2 separate regions of the Homo sapiens genome follow, and region 2 is linked to region 1. The links are contacts of gene promoters, found by promoter capture Hi-C in human tissues and cell types (Jung and others, 2019). All regions are on one chromosome and are shown on one strand. The core of a region is centred on a gene start or on the middle of the fragment in contact, and the rest is flanking DNA. Distances in the headings are between cores, read along the strand shown. Region 1 holds the start of TLL1 (tolloid like 1). Region 2 overlaps LINC01179 (long intergenic non-protein coding RNA 1179).

What was found. Contacts are between HindIII fragments. The study calls those that stand out against the background at their distance.
Region 2: a fragment that was not itself captured here is called in contact with the fragment with the promoter of TLL1 in region 1 in 1 of the 25 tissues and cell types used here (mesenchymal stem cells).

The regions. Positions count from the first base shown.
Region 1 is chr4:165,871,314-165,875,480 of GRCh38, forward strand. TLL1 (tolloid like 1) reads left to right here and starts at 1,924. Exons shown (of 21, transcript NM_012464.5): 1 at 1,924-2,760. The coding sequence starts at 2,592. The HindIII fragment of the contact is 12,105 bases long and covers 771-4,167 here.
Region 2 is chr4:165,696,694-165,700,408 of GRCh38, forward strand. All of the region lies in intron 3 of LINC01179 (long intergenic non-protein coding RNA 1179), which reads left to right. Among named protein-coding and RNA genes, the nearest start is that of LINC01179, 14 kb to the left of the region's middle. The HindIII fragment of the contact is 5,002 bases long and covers 1-3,715 here.

The DNA of each region.
Region 1 (4,167 bases), core at 674-3,173:
ATCATTCTAACTCTCTGGACTACAAATTCATAAAATTATAAAACCAAATAATGAAACACATGTTAAAAGTAATAGGTGTCATTATACATAATGAAGCTATTATCCCTATACAGTACTTTTTTTCCCAGAACAAATGAATAAAACATATTTATTCCTGCAAAGTAAGTGATGTTTAGGCAAACCACAGGTAAAACTTCTTGCAAATTTACACATGATAAAATAGTCTAAGGAGATGTTTGCAGGCATTTAGATTAACAAGGGACATTTTTAAGGTTTGGGATAGGGAATGGGAACACTGTCAGCAGCTCAAGAGCAGGAATCCTCTAGATGACATATGCATTCTCTAGGCTTTCAGATGGGCTAAGCAGGACATATTCTTGTTGAGCTCTGCACTAGGGCAACACTATTATTAATTATGCAAACTTTTTTTTTTTTGGATGGGTAAGAGAATTTGAGAATGACTCAGCAAGAGATTTCAAAATCAAACGCCTCTACCTGCTTATTGAACATGTTCTTTTTAAAAATCTACTTCTGCTCTGTATCCTGGGCATTAAAAGCTTAAGATCTATGGAAGGGAAGCTCCATCATTGCAGTGGCCTCTGAGAAAGACCCAGTTTTGCAAAGAACACTTGGTCAGTTCAGTTCCACCTAGCCTTCCTATACTTTTAGTTTAAGTTGAAAATACTTGGTACTTTTTCAAGATTGGCTTCTTACTTTTCTCTAACAAACATGAATAAAACCTAGTAAAATCTCCAAACCAAAGATGACTTTATCTGTCAAAGTTGTGTGTGTGTGTGTGTGTGTGTGTGTGTGTGTGTGTGTGTGTTTACCTTCATACATTCCTCTAGATGATAACTTGGATAGGGGGAACACTAGTCAAATAATATGTAAGGCTTTTTTTTTTTTTACAAGTCCTTGCTAAAGTGACAGTTTTAAAGATTTAGTTGGAAAAGGAAAGCTCCCAATCACCAGTCCCTTGGAAGCTTGTTGGGGGAGAAGTCATCTCACCTATTTTGGAAACTACTTGCAGATGTGGGGAAACCTCGGAATTGCTCACAACAGGGGTTTTACAGAGATTTCCTCTGATTTTTTTCCTCCCCAATTTCCCACAACCTGTGTTTGTCTTGAGTCTGCTCGGCTGACATGTGGTTTACCTCGCTGACCCTCCTGCCAGGTTTTACACCCTCTCCTCTGAAGAAGTAAAACATTACTGAAGCCGAAGGATACTGAGCAACTCTGCTCATGGGCGCCAGAACTGTCACAGAAAATTTGCTTCCCGAGTATTCCATCCAGCTTCCCTTCCTGCGCCCACGTGAGCCATAGCGCCAGCCCATCGGCAAGGTCTCAGCGTTTCCTGCTGCTGCAATCTGTAACTCGATTTTGGATTTTTTTTTTAATTGCAGTTCTGAGGATCTTAGTTCTTAGCAAAACTTTGTTGGTTAGGAGACCAACAGTAGTCTGTTTATTTTCTTACCAAAATCGTGAAGACTCGCACACTTTTCCTCCATTCCTGCGCTGCTCTAAGGTTAAACAGCAGCAAAGGAAAGAAATACACACTCGCTGTTTATTTGGGGGGAGGGGAAATATGGATTTGCAGCTAAGTTATCACGATCCTTCGCTCCACCCCCGGTCTGGCACTCTCAACTGACACGTACATCATCTATTAATTGCTGTTTGCGTACACAGATACATAATATATTCATTTTTATCTTTGGTAAAATATAAATGGAATTGTCAGCGCGCTCCTGTCTGTTTGTTTGTCTAAGGCTATCAAAAGAAGTCAAGAGAGGAGGCTGTGGTCCGGATCCTGACCCTGATTGTATGAATAAGTAAGCAGGATGCAAGTGATTGGGTTAGATGGTGCGAATATTTTTTTTTTTCAAGTTAGGAAGAGGGTAAAAAGACAGGCTGGCGGGGGGAAGGCAAACAGTGCATCCCCAAATCCTCACACTTTTGCTCTCTTGCAGTCAGTTGCTTTGCTGGCTTCTGCAGGCTTTTAAGGTCTCGCGGCGTAGAAATGCCTGGCCCCCACCCCCTTCCTCGGTCTCCCCTTTCAATTCAGATGTGCTGATGTGCAGACCGGATTCATCTTCTCGGAGCTGCGGCGGCGGCTTTGGGCTCAGGCGGCGGCGGCTCGCGCTCGGCCGCGGAGTCCTGGCAGCAGCGGGGACGCGGCGCGGGAGTCCGAGCTCTGGTGGCAGCTGAGCCCGCGGGGCGCCGCTCGCCGAGCCGCGGCCGCGGGAAGTTCGGCAGCCAGAAGGACGACCTGGCAGGCTGCGAGCGCCAGCGCCGCCAGAGCCGAGTTTGCCTGCGCCCTCCCCGCCTCCGAGTGCAGAGTTCCTTACCTGCCCTCCGCCCACCCGTGGGCCCCTAGCCAACTTCTCCCTGCGACTGGGGGTAACAGGCAGTGCTTGCCCTCTCTACTGTCCCGGCGGCATCCACATGTTTCCGGACACCTGAGCACCCCGGTCCCGCCGAGGAGCCTCCGGGTGGGGAGAAGAGCACCGGTGCCCCTAGCCCCGCACATCAGCGCGGACCGCGGCTGCCTAACCTCTGGGTCCCGTCCCCTCCTTTTCCTCCGGGGGAGGAGGATGGGGTTGGGAACGCTTTCCCCGAGGATGCTCGTGTGGCTGGTGGCCTCGGGGATTGTTTTCTACGGGGAGCTATGGGTCTGCGCTGGCCTCGATTATGATTACACTTTTGATGGGAACGAAGAGGATAAAACAGAGACTATAGATTACAAGGACCCGTGTAAAGCCGGTAAGTGGCTCTCCAGGTTGGGACGGTGGCGCGCCGGGGGCCGCTGCGCTGGGTTTCCCATGGGTGGCGGTGGGAGCTCACCTGTTTCCTTCCCTCCCGCGTCAGCCCCTCCGCCGCCCCTCCTTCTCTCCCCCTCCTTTTCCTTCCCTTCCCCACCCGCAAGTGGCAGCCGCTGCGGCCCCAGTTGACTAGAGTTCTGTGCCAGTGGGATCCACTGCCAAGCTCCCATCTCCCAGTTTGGGAATAAGGTCCTAGAGTTTCTGATCCCTCTCCCCTCCCCCAGCAAAACGAAACAAGTCGTAAATATAGCTTGCTGCTGTAGGTTTTAAATTCCAACACTCAGCGGGCTTTATGCATATGGAAGGGACACCGTCTTCTTTCCCCTCTCCCCCAGGGCGCGGTTTCCCAGCGCTTGTTCGAGAGCGAGTTGGCAGGGTTCCCCAAAAGATACAGGAGGATGGCATTGCTACCTGGAGACACCTTGGCTCCCTCTTTTACCAGGAATTTCAAGTGTGGGTTCCAGGCTAGAAAGGGATTGTGACAATCTCGGAAGAACTCACTTCTAGATGGGATTCTGATGCATTTGCCCATTTAAAATAAACTGAAAAGAAAAATGTTTTTAAGTTGCTACCCCATTCAAATTTGTGTCTTCCTTCCAGCTAACACCCCAGGGAAATGCAGTCGGACCGGCACTGCCTGAAGCTCAGCTTCTTGCCTCGCAGGGTCCCTGAATGTCCCAGGTCCTTCCCCTCCCTTCTACGCCTCTGGCGCCGCTGCCAGCCTCTCGCGCGCGCGGGGCGGCGCTTCCCTCTCGCCGCCTAAGGTCGGAGGCGCACGTGCCCGGGGCCGCTACCACGTGAGCGCAGCGCCTGAGGGCGCCCAGCACTGGCCGCGGCTCGTGTCCGGGCTTCGGGAGCTCCTGGTTCCTTGCTCTATTGGGCTGTGGCTGAGGTGATCCGCGCTCAGTGTGGACGCACAAGTAACTTCGTAAAGGTTGCATGGTGGTTGGGGCTAACCTAGCAGAGCGGTTTGTAAGCGGAAGGCACGTTAGGTTCCATCCCAAGAGGTGTGGGCTTTAGCGAAGCGCAGAGGAAGGGAGTGGACAAAGTCAAATATATCTAGGGTTCTGCAGATTCCGTGCGGGGTTGCTCTGTGACTAGCTTTTCTTCCCTTCCATAACTAGATAAGCATTATTCACCCTCTCTTGGGCCTGGAGGAAGGAGAGGTGTACACAATGAAGAAAAATGCTGGAAATTCCCTAGTTAATTTTTACCTTTGATGACCCATTGTTCTGACAAAAAGGGTATGTGTGTTGTGTTCACATTATCACATCTTTCTCGGTGCATCCTTAAATGCAGGTACTTATTTAAAAGCCAGAGTAGCTTAGCAGGAGCCTGTTAGGCTGGA
Region 2 (3,715 bases), core at 669-3,168, 170 kb before region 1:
CGGGGGGGCAGTTGAGGGGCCTCTGTAATGAGTCAAATTATAAAACTTTTACATAAAATGTTTGCAAAGTACTTAGACAAATTGAGTTATTCTTTTCCAAGAGATTTTCCTGCAAATTTCAGTCATGCACATTTGGTTCGTTGACATACCTTGGGCTAGATTACAAACAGTTTTTATTAAAAACTAATTTTCAGGCTTTTATCAATCCAGCATCTGGAACGTTGTGCATTTGAACTTGCATTTTTCCATAGGTAGGTAACCCAATTATAATAATTACATTATGGAAAATTTATGACCTTCTTCTTTGCTACTCAGAATTTATTTTACCTGCTCAGAGTAAATTGTTGAGAATCCGAGAATCACAATCATTGCTGAGAGTGGCCCAAAAGTATTTTCCAATCCCATTGCTATGTGGGCATGGGATGCTTCAGAATATAAATTATCATCCATTTTAAAATCATCTAGCCAACACGCCAAATTCTACAAAGGTATTATTCGAATGAAAAAATTATAAATACTTAAAACAAAAATAAGAAGAGGGCTTTTTTGGCATCTATTTCTTTGTTGTTCACTTAAGTCATTTTTCTTATTGTCAACTGAAGTCCCCTTCCTTTATTTCTGTCTAAAAGTGAGTTATTAGTAAGATAAGAAAGTAAAAACTGGGACATAAACTATATTCAGGTATAAAATATTCCAATAAGAAAGTAAAAGTTTACTACTCCCTAGAAGTAAAAAATGGCCAGGGTTGTTGAACTATGGAATGTTAAGTGTCCCCAGGTGACTTTGCAACAGTCAAGAAGGGTGAATGTGCAAATCTGGCTCATCTTCGCAAGAAGGATTTTGTTCAATATTTTGATATGCTTCATTCTACAAAATTAAGTTAATTTGGAGGGATTAGTCACAGTTAGTCGTGATGCTTAGAAGAAACATAAACTGTCAAAAGCAGCTGTGCTCTCAGTTTTATTATCATTTGAATAGTTTTCTAAACACTTAAAAGCCCTAAGGCCTTAAAACTAAAGTTAAATCCTAATGCCTGTTATTTTTGAAGAGATGACTTCCATTGCATACCTTGGGTATCTATGAGTCTTTTACATTTCATAAAATTAGGAGCTCATAATGATGAACTGGAAATATCCTATTTAGTCTTTACAACTGTAGAAAACTGAATTCGTAAACTTAGCACTGTGGAGATCTGTGCTCGTGGGAGAGAAAGGATCATTTACTCAGTTGGCATACACCAAACACTACACCACATTGGTAAATAACTATTGTAACTCTAAACATCTCTGTTTGTTGTCTGTGATTAATTCATTCTATACACGTATATCTATTCTCCCCCTCTATCTCTCTATCATGATTTATATCTGTGAACACGTGTATGTGTAGTTTATGCATGTATCCACACATAAAGATGTATACATATATATCTATATATACATGTGGGTATGTGTTCCTTTCCTTCTTTTAACATTTAACGTATTTCACAAGCTTAAAAAAGACTATTGCATACCACTAAGAAAATTATGTGACTCATTCACTAAAATTATTTTTAATAGTGTGAGGCACGTAAGTTGTTCAATTTATCATGAGCACAATTGATTGATTCATACCCCAAATGGATACTGTGCAGAATATTATAGGCTTCCCTCTCTATCCTTGGGCTATGATTTATAACTTTCTGACAAATTTATTTGAATCCGTGAAAAAATGATTGAATGATTTCAGCCTATATTTAAGTGTTATTGGAGGCAATAAATCATACTTTGAAAGACTTATGGTACTAGAGAATTGCTCTTCACAAGTTGACAGAATTCACTTTTAAGTGGCTTCATCCAGCACTGTGGTGGTCCTTGTAAATAAAGGAACGAATCCCTACTCACTCATGGAATTTAATAGTGTATAATTGGACCATTGGCCTTAATATCTCAACACAGTTACCAGAGACTTTTTTTTTTAATGTGGCTCTTGGAATGTCACCTGCTTTTCCTTACCTTCCATTTAGGAAGAGAATGAGATGTCTATCTGACATATCTGAGTGCCTTAGAATTATGGGAAGCAGGCCATGGAGTTAAAAAAATGTGCTTTATAATTGTGTAAATGAAATGTATATTTCCATGAATAGGCAGTGGGAAAACCTTATGAGAGAAACACAGAACGAAAGCACACTTAGAAAGAGGAGAGATTTTCCAATATCGATGAGGGATTTAAATGATGACCAATACTAAGAGATTTCATAGTTTTTGGAGAGTAAGAGAAGTACAGGAATTAATGGGCAGAACACAGCAGTCAGAATGTGCATTGCAGTAATGCCTTGTATCAATATCTATATTGTTTTATATCATAACTGAATAATGACAACATAATGCTAGAAATTGGAAATGGGTTGAAAGAAAAGCTCAAAGCCTAAGTAATTCTGGCAAACAGAATTATTTCAAAATAATTTCTGCTTTTTTCTTTTTACACTTTAAGTGTGTGCAGTACTCAATCGATGCATTCCTTTCAGTTTAAATCTGAAAGTAACTGCTCTGAACAAGTCGGGATAGAATGGCCTTTGTGGAGAACAAACATAGCCAGTAACTGCCCCAGTCCTCTCCCCATGATTCGAAGGAAAGTCTGATTTATGGCTTCATCTCTGCTGTTGGACAGAGAGGCCTCAGCCCATTGGAAATCTCCAGAGCCGTGGGAGAGGGGTGAGGCTGTGGTCCACCACAGTTGAGGATTTTCAAGGCCTCGTTTTCTTTTGGCCAAGTCCAAATGGTAACAGTGTGTTACGGCCTGACTTACTGACTCTAGCTGGGCTAGGAAACTATAGATTCTAAATGGCATCTCTGTGATTTAAGACAGTATACATAATCAGCTTTCTTTTTTAAAATTTGCCAGTTACACATGAATGTTTCATGGAAAATAAGTCAATTGTAGCGTTCCCCATTTTTCAAAAAAGCAAAGGATTTTTTTTCTTTTACAATATGAGTAGGAAATGGAGCATAATGGGAAGCCAAATTGATCAATTGTTGTTTCTAAGTAGAGTGATTTTAAGATTTGATTTGGGAAGAACTGTTTCAATTTACTCTGCTGTCCAGCCATATTTTTAATAATGCCCCCCTTTCAATCTCAAAAGTCTTCAAGCTTAGGCAACAAATTCTAAGATCATCCTATTTTTACATATATAGATACCTTTTGATTTTCAGGTAGGCGTAATATTTTTAAATGGTAGCGTACTGAAAACAGGCTAGGATTTTAAAAGATGTAGAAATTTGCTTTTTGAAACTCTTCCCACCAAATGAAAATCATCCCCAGTACCCTAGAGAAGCTCACCCAGACACTTCTACAGTTTTAGGAACTAATTTATGAAATAAAGACTCTACCAAGGAAATTCTTGTGTTCTCATATTTTATTCTTAAATTATTTCAATGAGAATGCTTATTTTTTTTTCTACAAGAGCAGGACAAGTGAATTTCCCTTTTCTATACCTTTTTTATCCATATATGAATTGAGGAGCATCTTGAAAATGTGATTTTCAATGTGCAATAAGAGGTCATTTCAACCTACTGAAATACAGAAGTGATTAAAGTAGAAGAGGAAGGATGATCAGAAGAAGAGGTGAGATTAAGAACACTCTGACTATAGAGCTGACCTGCAGGTGGGATCAGTAGCATTTTTGTCTCAGATCTATGCTTTTTTCATTTACTCTTCGTGCAAAGTTGGGATCATGGTT